2 separate regions of the Homo sapiens genome follow, and region 2 is linked to region 1. Evidence: promoter capture Hi-C in 16 types of primary human blood cells and fetal thymus (Javierre and others, 2016). All regions are on one chromosome and are shown on one strand. The core of a region is centred on a gene start or on the middle of the fragment in contact, and the rest is flanking DNA. Distances in the headings are between cores, read along the strand shown.

Region 1 (6,585 bases), core at 2,338-4,837:
GCTGGGTCTATAGGCACCTGCCATTACCACGTCCAGCTAATTTTTTTTTTTTTTTTTTTTTTTGTAGAGAAGGGGTCTCACTGTGTTGCCCAGGCTGGTCTCAAACACCTAGGTTCAAGTGATCCTTCCACCTCAACCTCCCAAAATGCTGGGATTATAGATGTGAGCCACTGTGCCCAGGTCAACACATTTGTAGATTCTCAAGACTCGGCTGAATTCCAATTGTAACCTTTAAAAATATATATGGCCAGGGCCGGGCGAGCTGGCTCACACCTGTAATCCCAGCACTTTTTTTTTTTTGGAGATGGGGTTTCCCTCTTGTCACCCAGGCTAGAGTGCAATTGCCCACGGCAACCTCCGCCTCCTGGGTTCAAACGATTCTCCTGCCTCAGCCTCCCCAGTAGCTGGGATTACAGGCTCCCGCCTCCACGCCCAGCTAATTTTTGTATTTTTAATAGAGACAGGGTTTCACCACATTGGCCAGGCTGGTCTCGAACTCGTGACCTCAGGTGATCTGCCCGCCTCAGTCTCCCAAAGTGCTGGGATTACAGGCATGAGCCACTGCGCCCAGCCAATCCCAGAACTTTGGAAGGCTGAGGTGGGGGGATCACGAGATCAAGAGATCGCCGGGCGCGGTGGCTCACGCCTGTAATCCCAGCACTTTGGGATGCCAAGGCGGGATGATCACGAGGTCAGGAGATGGAGACCACGGTGAAACCCCGTCTCTACTAAAAATACAAAAAATTAGCCGGGCACGGTGGCAAGCGCCTGTAGTCGCAGCTACTCGGGAGGCTAAGGCAAGAGAATGGCGTGAACCCGGGAGGTGGAGCTTGCAGTAAGCCGAGATCGCGCCACTGCACTCCAGCCTGGGCAACAGAGCAAGACTCTGTCTAAAAAAAAAAAAAAAAAAGAGAGATCAAGAGATCAAGACCACCCTGGTGTACGACTGGGCTAGGCGGCCAGGCTTGGCTGTATGCAATTTGCCTGCATGCAACGCTCGATATGCAACTTAAAATATTTTCCTGATAAACACAACTTTGTTGTTTTGGTGGGGCTACATATCCCTTTAATTTGTAAATTTAAAATATACAATATGTTTCAAAGACTTAGTACAAAAAAGTAAACTATTAATTTTTATATTGAATGCATGCTGAAATGACAATGTTTTGGATATATTGGGTTAAATAAAATAATTATGAAAAAAATTTATCTTGTTTCTTTTAAAATTTTTAGTGTGGCTACTAGAAACCATAATGTGACATGCTCATATTATATTTCTATTGGACAGCACTGCCCTTTGGGATATCCTTTTTCCTTTAGATACTAAATTCAGTTGCTGTGGTGACTAAAGGGGCCTCTGGCTCAGCATTTCCTGGAAGGCAATGGTGAGATGGGGGAGGGGAGTTGTCATCAAATCAGATTTTAACAATATCCTCGTTAAAGCAAAGGAAGCAACAGTAATCTAGTTTTCTCGGGTCCAGCAGTATCAATTTGAATTCTAGGCCCTCAACCAAAACCCTAAAGGAAGATACACTTTCTCCAATTCACCACTGGGAAAAAGTTTATCTCTTTACCAAGCGTCCTTCACCCACCCTGCCACCTCCAGTACTGAAAGGGTTGCAAGCTACAAATGAATGGGCATTAGGAATTTGATAGTTGATATTCCTCCTCCAAAAAAGCCTAGATACTATCTCTCACTTACCCAGCTGTTTAAACACAAACCAAGTTGTTTTGCTTTGTTTACTCTCAACCTGGAACCACTCTTCTCTCTCCCCGATTATCCCTCCCTCAGTTCTCATTCCTATTTTCTTCTCCTGCTTAGCTTGTTCAGTTTTCTTGTATAGCTTAGTAATCAGATACTTATGTAACACTTTTCTTTCAAGAAACTCACAGTCCATAACTAATAGGATATTAATAATCTTTTCCAGTTATGTGAGAATTACTTGCCCTAGTCCCTTTTTATACTTTATAAAAAGGGAAGAAGGGAAACACTATAAATGACTTGTGGGTCAGAACTCTTTTGTCCTATTATTCTTTTTTTTTTTTTTTTTTGAGACGGATTCTTGCTCTGTCGCCCAGGCTGGAGTGCAGTGGCGCTGTCTTGGCTCACTGCAAGCTCCGCCTGCCGCGTTCACGCCATTCTCCTGTCTCAGCCTCCCGAGTAGCTGGGACTGCAGGCGCCCGCCACCATGCCCGGCTAATTTTTTTTTTTTTTTTTTTTTTTTTTGTATTTTTAGTAGAGAATGGTTTCACCGTGTTAGCCAGGATGGTCTTGATCTCCTGACCTCGTGATCCGCCCACCTCGGCCTCCCAAAGTGCTGGGATTACAGGCGTGAGCCACCGCGCCCGGCCTTTTTTTCTATTATTCACTGAAGAATCACCAGCTTCTTGGAGAGTACCTGATACATAGCGTGTATTCGGCAAATACCTGCTTAATTGAATTCGGTATTTATTGCATTTCTAGATGCTATAAGCTTGAGACTAGCAGAAAGTGATGCAGAATTCAGAATGGGTGATATGGCAAATGCCTTATTAAATATAGGGCTCGGCGCGGTGGCTCACACTTGTAATCCCAGCACTTTGGGAGGCCAAGGCGGGCAGATCACAAGGTCAGGAGTTTGAGACCAGCCTGGCCAATATGGTGAAACCCCGTCTTTACTAAAAATACAAAAATTAGCGGGGCGTGGTGGCGGGCGCCTATAGTCCCAGCTACTCGGGAGGCTGAGGCAGGAGAATTGCTTGAACCCGGGAGGCGGAGGTTGCAGTGAGCCGAGATCGCACCACTGCACTCCAGCCTGGGCGACAGAGAGAGACTCCATATCAAAAAAAAAAAAAAAAAAAAAAAAAGGATATGGATTGTATTCCATAAACAGTTGAACCTCTTATTCCTACTGCCCTGATAGTTGGTCTGGCTCCTAGAAATTCAGATTTTCTTCCCTCCAGGTGAGATTATGCGAAGAAAGGAACACTGGCAAAATTATTTCCCTGATTTTCTTCTCTCAGGCTGTCTTTCCCTCCCCTTTAAGATTGTGTACTCCGTCTCAAAAAAAAAAGAAAAAAAAAAGATTGTAGACCCAGCCTATAAATTCATAGGATCAAGAATTCTTACTAACACTCTTTCTAACAACCTTAAATCTCTGATAGTAGCACCCACTTGACTTCGTTTTGTATGGATAGATTTATTCTAATCTCTCTGTAGATTGTTTTAATCCCAAGCAGATGCGAGAGCATAAAATAGTGTATTTGCCCTCCCTCCAGGCTTTTCTGGTAGTATTTTGTCTGTGAAACTAAGAGGCTCTAGCTGCTATTAGAAGAGGGAAGGAGTAAGGATGAGCTTTTGAAAAAAAAAAAAAAAAAAAAACCCAGGGTGGAGAGAGTGGAAGGATGTGGTTTTAAGAGAGGGGGGAGGGAGGGCGTTATTGTCTGTGGGGCGGGGGCGGGGGTAGTTCTGATAACACAGAATTCCGAGAGATCACAAGATTGCTTCAGGGGGGTGGGGTGGGGTGGGGTGGGGCTGGGGGCTTGTCGCCCTTTCAGGCTCCACCCTTTGCGGAGATTATAAATAGTCATGATCCCAGCGAGACCCAGAGATGCTGTAATGGTAAGACTTTGGATCCTTCCTGAGGACGTGGAGAAAACTTGCTGCTGAGAAGGACATTTTGAAGGTTTTGTTGGCTGAAAAAGCTGTTTCTGGAATCACCCCTAGATCTTTCTTGAAGACTTGAATTAGATTACAGCGATGGGGACACAGAAGGTAAGAATGATATAATTACTGGTTATTTTTGCTTGTTTGGGATACACTCAGAAAGGCAAATATTAATGGTAATCTCCTTGTTCTATTTTCTCCTAAGTCACCAAGCTATCTTAAGGCCTTTTCATTTCGTCTCTAGCCTGCACTGCTGCCGCTTCATCAGTTCTCTTTGAATGTCATACAGTTCTGTTCACCTTATCATAGGAAAGTCACCCGGAGAAGTTGTGTTTGCTTCTCAGGTTTATTTTAGGTAACCATATGCCACTGAGGACGAGATGGTTGAGTGTTTAGAGGATCGGGCTGCTTGGTTGTATGGATTACAAGTGTGGGTCTCAGAGCCAGTGTGAAGACTTCTCTGGAAGCATTAGACCTTGAAAAGGTCTGTGTTTGGAGGCACAGGCCAGGGTCTGGCCATCTGTTTGTCCTATAACATATGGGGTTCGTGGATGCTAAGGAGAAAGAATTCCAGTTGTCCTTCCTATTAGGGTTAAAATCGTGAGTGCAGGACATACTAAAATATTGAGTGTTGTATATGCATTATTTGCAGGGAGAAAGGCTTTTCTTTTTTTTCTGATTGAGTTTTACTCTTGTTGCCCAGGCTGGAGTGCAATGGAGCGACCGCAGCTCACCACAGCCTCCGCCTCCCGGGTTCAAGCGATTCTCCTGCCTCAGCCTCCTGAGTAGCTGAGATTACAGGCATGAACCACCGGGCCCGGCTAATTTTGTATTTTTAGTAGAGACGGGGTTTCTCTATGTTGGTCAGGCTGGTCTCGACTCCCGACCTCAGGCGATCCGCCGGCCTCGGCCTCCCAAGGTGCTGAGATTACAGGCATGAGCCACTGCGCGCAGCAAGAAAGGCATTTTTTACCAAGATAAATTTAACTAAAAATAAGGGGCCAGGTGTGGTGGGTCACACCTATAACCCCAGCATTTGGGAAACCAAGGCAGGAGGATCACATGAGGCCTGGAGTTTGAGACTAGCCTTGGGCAATATAGTGAGATCCCATCTCTACAAAGCAGAAAGAAAGAAAATGTAGGAAAATAAGAAAGGGATGGAAAATTATGAGACTAAAGAAGAAAAGGCTCTCAAAGATAGTGAATGATGAGAGGAGACAGAAGAGATTTTTACTAAACGGAAAAAGATTTAACAGAGCATTGCACTGGCAGGGCCCTCCGGGGTACCGATGCTTAGCTGGGACTGAGACATCTGGGAGGCTGCAGGCAAGGTCACTTCTCCTGCTGAAGCTCCCAGCCTGCTGCCTAATCTGCCCGACCTGAAAGGAAAGGAGTTTAAGATATGAAAGGTTGAAGGGATTTTGGGTGGTGGGGTGGGGGGGAATGGCGTAGAAGTTGGCCTCAGGTATAAAAATTGAGCTGCCCCAAGGTAGAAATGGAAAATGTCTCGCCCGGCTGAATTATTCCAGGCAAGGTGAAGATGACCGGTTCTCCCCACTAAGAAATGTCTCTTATATGTTGGGTTCGCCCTTATATGTTGGGTTCAGAGTAAGTACTTTCTTCCCCTGCGCGGGAGTTAGGGATAGCAGAACTGTATTTAATAAACGAAGACTGAAATGGGGCCAGGATGCAGTGAGTAGATCCAGTAGGTTACATGGTCCTGAGAGATAAGAGACTCAAAGAGCCACCCAGCAGTGAAGACACAAACTACCACCCCCTCCACCACCACCAGTGGGCTTCCGTGGAGTCTGGGGTACAGATCAGACTGCACTGTATTTGTTTCCAGAATGGTCAATTCTTAGTAATCCTACCCGAGACTGTCTTTTTCTCTGCCCTCCCAGTTCGTGAGTGGAATTCTATGCCTACATTTGCCTGATGCAAGTTTTTAAATATTTCCAAACTGACCAACCCAGTTTCTCTTAACTTCTTCCTTCCCCAATTTTCTTTCATTTTTACCAAGTTAACTTCACATTCTTATCTCCAGATAAGTTCTTTAGTATAATCTATTCCTTTGTCTTCCCCATTAATTACCTAAATCTCATTGGATGTTCTTTTCATACCACTCATAACTCAAATTCTCCTAATACAGCTCCATAATTAATAAGAAACAGTCATCAATCACAAGTTTTAAGGACTATTCTCTCCTCTGTCTTCCCTCCCTCCAGGTCACCCCAGCTCTGATATTTGCCATCACAGTTGCTACAATCGGCTCTTTCCAATTTGGCTACAACACTGGGGTCATCAATGCTCCTGAGAAGGTGAGTGCCAGGCCACAATAATTAGAATTTAGAATAGGGAAGTTATTCCTTTAAGTAGGGTTTCAGGAATTCAGAATTTAAGGCCAGGCATGGTGGCATCTGCCTGGAGTCCCAGCTACTCCTGAGGCTGAGGCTTAAAGATCACTTGAGTCCAGGAGTTAAACACCATCCTGAGCAACACAGTTAGTGAGGGTCCCTCCCCAAACTAGGGGATTTTAAGACAAACTTTGTATCTATCCTGTCCAAGACTGAAGATGGAGACAATATTGGTGGGGAAAATTAGTGGGGTCATCTAATCGAAGCACAAAGCTCACTTACTCCCGGAACGCTGGGCGGTGCTGTTCTTCCTCCCACTCTTTCACCTCATAGTGATGCACATCCTGTATTATCCCTTAGGGGTTAGTTACAAAGAAGCTGGGTTCCCTTAGCAGAGGGCTGGGGTAGACTGTGAACATCGGTGCTGCCACCTACTGGGATTTTCAGGACAAATAGAATTACTATTCCAGCGAGAGTTAACATAAATTCCAATACGTTATCTGCCCCTTCCATTCCTGTCTATTTATTCCCTTGATTCTCTAGGAAGGAAATGATCCCTAATGTTTGTCTTTTGTTCTCATCCAA
Region 2 (6,585 bases), core at 2,008-4,507, 310 kb after region 1:
GGAAGCTCTGTAAAGTAGGGTGTGAACTCAAGGACACAGAGTGAAGTGAAGAAAGCAAGGTGCAGAAATTGCACACAGTATGCCATCTTTTGTACTGGGAAAAGGAATACAAAGCAGCAGAGAAAGGTGCATGCATGTATATGTAAATACAGTCATTAAAACTGAAAACTAAATGGCACAAATAAGCCTAATTCCCTATTGAGTTGGCATTGCTGTCTCAACCACATAGAGGAAAGCATTATTACATCTGACTTTGGAACACAGTATCTTCACTGTATTTCTTCAGTATGATATACTCCAAAGACAAAAATACTGCATAGACATCTCAACGTCACTTGAAGTGAAATAACATAAAAACGGGAACAGCCTCCTCCTGATGCTCCGGAAAGATGAATATGAGAAGGGGACCATTATCTCTAACGGGAAAACTTCCGGCCTAAGGGTTGGGCCAAGTCAAGGTTCTGTGTGGGAATTCTGAGCATATCAGTGGGAAGTGTGCAAGGCTTGTCATCTCCCTGAGCACTTGTTTCCTGTCCATGAACGACGAGAATAACCCAACTTTCCTGTTTTAAGTAGGGTTCTTTTTCTTCTTCTTCTTCTTCTTTTTTTTTTTTTTTTTGAGAGGAATCTCGCTCTGTCGCCAGGCTGGAGTGCAGTGGCACGATCTCGGTTCATTGCCACCTCCGCCCCCCGGGTTCAAGCGATTCTTCTGCCTCAGTCTCCCAAGTAGCTGGGACTATAGGAGCGCGCCACTACGCCCAGCTAATTTTTGTATTTTTAGTAGAGACGGAGTTTCATCATATTGGCCAAGATGGTCTCGATCTCTTGACCTTGTGATCTGCCCGCCTCGGCCTCCCAAAGTTCTGGGATTACAGGCGTGAGCCACCGTGCCCGGCCTAGTAGTGTTATTTTTCACATACACCAATAGGCATCTTGGCTCAACATACGAAAGCCCCTTTCCACAGAGACAGCTGCCTCCAGCCTGAAGAAGTTGCCACAGGAGGTAGAAGGAGGTCCCTTGCCCATGCCTGGGAGACCCAGCCAGAGTGGACAGGGAGGCGGCCCGGGCCGGGGTGCCAGACTCAGCAAATAAACACAGCACTCCCAGGTAACCCTGAATTTCAGATAACCAACGAATAACTTTGTATGATACTATATTTGTACTCAAAAGTAACTCGTTTATCTGAAATTCAAAGTTGACTGCGCATGCGTTACTGTATTGTATCTGGCAACGCTCCACCTGGAGCCCTTAGGTTGGTTTTCCTACTCGGGTTTGTGGAAGGGGCGCCCCCCGTCTTGCAGGTGCCCGCGGCGCTCTCCACAGAGGAGCGCTAGAGGAGCGGCGGCGGCGGCGGCGGCAGGGGCGGCGGCGGCAGGGGCGGCGGCGGCGGCGGCGGCGGCAGGGGCGGCGGCGGCGGCGGCAGGGGCGGCAGCCCGGCACTGACTGGAGACCCAGGTGAGTCCTAGCAACTCACACGGCCCAACCGTCAAAACCACCTCTGTGGTGGGCGCGCACCCAACGCACGCACTTAGGCTCAATCCGGGAGTCGCCTCCGGCCACTGACTGGAGACCCAGGCGAGTCCTAAGGAACTGACAAGGCCCAACGGTCAAAACGGCCTCTGTCGTGGGCGCTCACCCAATGCACCCACCTACTCTCTCTCAATCCGGGCGTCGCCTCCCGTTGCCAGGCAACGAGAGCGCGCGCAGCAAAGAGGAAGCGGGACTGACAGATGAGGAAACCGAGGTTTGCAGAGACTGAGTGACTTGTTGAAGATCACACAGCTAGTAAGAGGCAGAATCAAAGCTGGAACTTGGGGGCTGGGTGCGGTGGCTCACGCCTGTAGTCCCAGCTACTCGGGAGGCTGAGGCAGGAGAATCGCTTGAACCTGGGGGGCGGAGGTTGCAGTGAGCAGAGATCGCGCCACTGCACTCCAGCCCGGGCGACAGAGCTAGACTCCATCTAAAAACAACAACAACACAAAATCGCGCCACTACACTCCAGCCAGGATGGTGAGACCCTGTCTCAAAACAAACAGCTGCAACATAAAAAACCCAAAAACCAAACCATAACAAAAAAAACCTGGAAATTGAACTTGGGCCCAGGATGGAAACTGACTACCTGAAGAGGTGCTTTGGAAATTGCCTGGCCCAGGCACTTGCACTTGACATGCATGGGGTATATTCTTCCACGTACAATTACATATATGCATTCATATGATTATGTACAGTAGTAGTAGATTATTAAATGTTGAAGAGCACTAACACACCATGTACATAATGGAACTGTATTTAATATTTATTTTTGGTAGTGATATGGCACATGAAAATAATTTGTTTTCTCATGTAGAAAATTCAGGGAATGGCTTAAATAGAATTTCAGCTTTGGGGGCTCATAATTGAGTGAGAGGCTTCTTCCTTGATTCCCCTGAGAAGGAAGAAATCTTCATTTTTGGTTTGCAAGACCATGAAAACAGTAAGTACAACAAATGAAATACTTTACACTCAAGGAAACATGTTTTAAAAAACAGAGAAGATATAGAAAAGAAGTATAAGTAATATATTCAAAGAGAGACTAAACGATATTTTATTAATTTTAAAAGCCATAGATTATAAAAATAAAAGTTTGCCCTATGAAAATAGAAAGAAAATCCTTAAGATAGTAGGTGAAGAACAGAATGGATAATGCCAGAAAAATTTTGACCCGAGAGACCTAAATAAGTAATTCTCCCAAAATACAGTAAAAGGGGAATAATGACAAAGAATATAAAAGAGATACGGAGGATACATATACAGAAATTTCAATATGCATCCAAGTTATAGAAATATTAAATGGAGTAGAGTACAATCAATAATAATTATAACAACAATAAATGAGAAATTTTCAGGATTTAGCTAAAACATAAATCTTCATCTAAACTTCAGAGTGGAAAAACACATAATACTCAAAGGAAATACAATTATATTGACTTCCAATTTCTCATCACCAACACTAGGAAGAAGAAAATTTAAAAGAAAAATCTTTGTCACCTTGGGTAAGCAAAGAGTTCTTGGACATAAGACCAACACCAAAGGACAAACTAATAAGGTAGATATTATGAAAATTAAAAACTTTACTTCTTCAAAAGACCATTAAAAGATTGGAAGGCTAGCCATAGTCTGGAAGAAAATAATTGCACATCATATAGTTAATAAGTTTGTATCTAGAATACATAAAGAACTCTCATAACTCAATTTTAAAGAGTAAACAATAGGCAAAAAGATTTGAACAGATACTTCCCCAGGGAAGATACTCAGATAGAAAATAGGCACCTGAAATTAACATCACTAGTCATTAGAGAAATGCAAATTAAAACCACAACCAAATACCAATACACAATGATTAGAATAGCTAAAATAAAAAGACTTTACAATACCACATACTGGCAAGGAGGAGGAATAACTAAAAATTTCTTATTGTTTAAATGCAGAGTGGTACCATGGGGCTGGAGCCTACTAGTCTAATGAGGTTTTAGCTTAATAAAAGTGTTTAATTTTCATTCAATTAATGTGGGATAAAGTTTTACAGTCCTTATTTTTCAGGAATTAAGTATGATATACTTGCTTAAGACTTTGAGGGTTGTTGTTCTGGCTAACCTAAATTCCTGATCCAATGCTAAAAATATTCGTGCAAGGGGGAAAGAAAAGATTGATAATATCCTAAGTGGAGATAGAAAGGCTATTTTGTTTGTATTCTTCACCTGGCATTTTGTTTTTATGTTGTTGGTTGTTGGCAATATTTTAAGTGGTGTAGAGTAAATCAGTCAGACATAAAAATATAAACTAAGTAAAGCTATGATAGCTACAAATGTTGGTATAATAAACTATTGTTCTTTGACATGAATAATAATTCATTTAGGTAAAAATCTGGTAAGTGATGGTAGACTTCCTAAGGAAAATAAGGTAACTGAAATTGTGGTTGCTTAGGGTGATAATTGATTTCATGTGTATGATGATGATAATGCTGTGGTACATATATTTAATAATAATTGCCTTCTGGGAGCACAGCTTAAATTTCTCATTTGCTTTACATCCTGCTGCTCATTTGAAATTTTCATTGGTTCACAGATATTTTAAGTAGCAAACACAGCTCTGAGGGCAGAAAATGAGACAGTTATTGCCTTGAATTATACTTCTGATGGTGCGAAGAGTAGCTCTTTCCCCCCGCCATCATACTTACTGTGATCTCTGTGGCTCCTGTAATTTTTTTTTCCTTTCCATAAACCAGAAATACATCATCAGAACAATTTATGGCTAGGCATGCCTGTAATCCCAGCACTCTGGGAGGCTGAGGTGGATGGATCACCTGAGGTCAGGAGTTCGAGACCAGCCTGGCCAACATGGCAAAACACTGTCTCTACTAAAATACCAAAAGATTAGCCAGGTCTGGTGGTGTGCGCCTGTACTCCCAGCCACTTAGGAGGCTGAGGCAGGAGAATCGCTTGAACCTGGGAGGCGGAGGTTGCAGTGAGCCGAGATCATGCCATTGCACTCCAGCCTGGGTGACAGAGGGAGACTCCGTCTCAAAAGAAGAAAAAAAAAAGAAAAATTTATTATTGAAATACTCAGTCAGCACCTGCAGCCCTCCCTACCAAGATGGCTTTGTGGCAGGCCAGGTCTCACTAATGCAGGCCTCCATAACAACTGTTTCAGAGTGGTTAACTATTAAAAGCCAGTGCTCTTATACACAGGTTGGAATGTAACAAAAGCCCAGCAAGAGTTTTGCCTAGGCCTTTCCCGAACCTTAAAGCATGATTAAACATGTCTATTGGAAGTCTGAAGGAACTCCCCAAACCTTTGTGATTTAGCAGGAGACAAGATAAGGGTAATCACCCCAGCATCTAGACTCATTTAGATTAAGCAAATTTACTGAGGCTCCAGAGGAAGGTCATCAGGACTCAGACCTTAGTTATAGATTAAAAGAAGTTAATCACTTATGTCTTTAGATGAATGCACATTTACATGTAGACATATAGCTTAGAAGGTCTATGAACTCTGGAAAACTTTGTAATTTTGAGTTGGTCTGGCGAAAATTTCTGGGCCTTTTCCTTATAATTGGTTACAGAGATAAAAACTCTCTTCCTCCCCAGTACATTATCATCTTGTTATTGGGCCATGAGAAATAGCAGCCTGACCCTCAGTTCGGTCCAGATACTCAGCTTGGTCTCTGTTGTGCCTGGATCACAGTTCAAATTCTTCTCGTATCACATTTTGTTGTCTCATCATTCCCCGACTCTGCTTTCTTTCCAAGGTGTTAATTCCTAAAAACATTTATTTTTTAGGAATAAATGCCACTTTGTTTTAGCATCTGCTTCTGAAAAATCCAATCTGCGACAATCCTCTTCAGATGGGTTGAAGCAGAAGGAACAAGCCATGCTCACAGGGAGCAGGGTTCTCCCTCTCCCTGTGAGTCACAGTTACTTTACAATTCACTATGCTTCATCCTTGCCCCAGAGCCTTCTGAAAATAATAAACTCTCATTAACCCAGAGAAATGACAATGTTGCATCAATTATCTCTGTGAGGATTCCACAGAGCCTGAAGCCTTACATTTTCTACCAAGGGCATGAAAGAATTTTAGCTGCTGCTCAACTTCGGAAAGGGAAATGCCTTGAAAGTAAAATTGAAGGGGAGGTGGGATCCATTCAGACACTGAAATATTTCTCACATTCTAGGTTACTTAAACCTATTTTTCTAGTTTCTTCAGTAGAATTTTTAGTACACTTTGAAGTTGTTTTTGAAGTTTGAGTGCATACGAAAAACCATACAATTACATTGTTCTTTTCTACACCTTTCATAGATTGAACACACTCATGTAATTGTCATCCAGGTCAAGAAAAAACATTGCTGACACCCCCAATCCCATTTGTACATTCTTTCAGTTACCATCCTCCATCACATAACCAGTAGGTAAACATCTAACAATACCGTTTCCAGTGTACTTTGGAAATCCATATAAATAGAATTATAAAGGATATAATCCTCTCTGTTGGATTTTTTATTTTATATATTGTTTGTGAGATCCATGTATAATATTGTTGGCTGTGGTTGTAGTTTTTTCATTCTCATTACTATATTGCACTCCATTGTGTGAATAGACCACATTTCATTTATTCACTTTACTGCTGGTGTTTTCTAGTTTGGCGCTATTATAAATAAAACTGTTATGGCTATTTTGTACATGTCTTTTGATGTCTTGTGTATGGAATTGGTTCCTTCTGGTGGGTTCGTGGTCTCGCTGACCTCAAGAATGAAGCCACAGACCTTCACGGTAAATGTTACATCTCTTAAAGGTGGCATGGACCCAAAGAGTGAGCAGCAGCAAGATTTATTGTGAAGAGCGAAAGAACGAAGTTTCCACAGCATCGGAAGGGGACCCAAGCAGGTTGCCACTGCTGGCGGGTGGTGGCCAGCTTTTATTTCCTTATTTGTCCCCACCCATGTCCTGCTGATTGGTTCATTTTACAAACCTCTAGCTAGCTACAGAGCGCTGATTGGTGCGTTTTACAATCCTAGCTACAGAGCGCCGATTGGTGCGTTTTACAATCC

The links. The method cuts DNA at HindIII sites, captures the fragments that hold promoters and counts their contacts. A CHiCAGO score of 5 or more calls a contact.
Region 2: a contact is called between a fragment that was not itself captured here and the fragment with the promoter of SLC2A3 in region 1, in 1 of 17 cell types (M1 macrophages). The highest score is 8.1, in M1 macrophages.

Annotation. Positions count from the first base shown.
Region 1 is chr12:7,933,189-7,939,773 of GRCh38, reverse strand. It overlaps SLC2A3 (solute carrier family 2 member 3), which reads left to right and starts at 3,587. Exons shown (of 10, transcript NM_006931.3): 1 at 3,587-3,754; 2 at 5,872-5,964. The coding sequence starts at 3,740. RefSeq lists a cis regulatory region at 1,213-1,560, a silencer at 3,409-3,458 and an enhancer at 4,526-5,479. The HindIII fragment of the contact is 4,746 bases long and covers 2,477-6,585 here.
Region 2 is chr12:7,623,544-7,630,128 of GRCh38, reverse strand. No RefSeq gene overlaps it. Among named protein-coding and RNA genes, the nearest start is that of APOBEC1, 39 kb to the left of the region's middle. The HindIII fragment of the contact is 7,553 bases long and covers 1-6,585 here.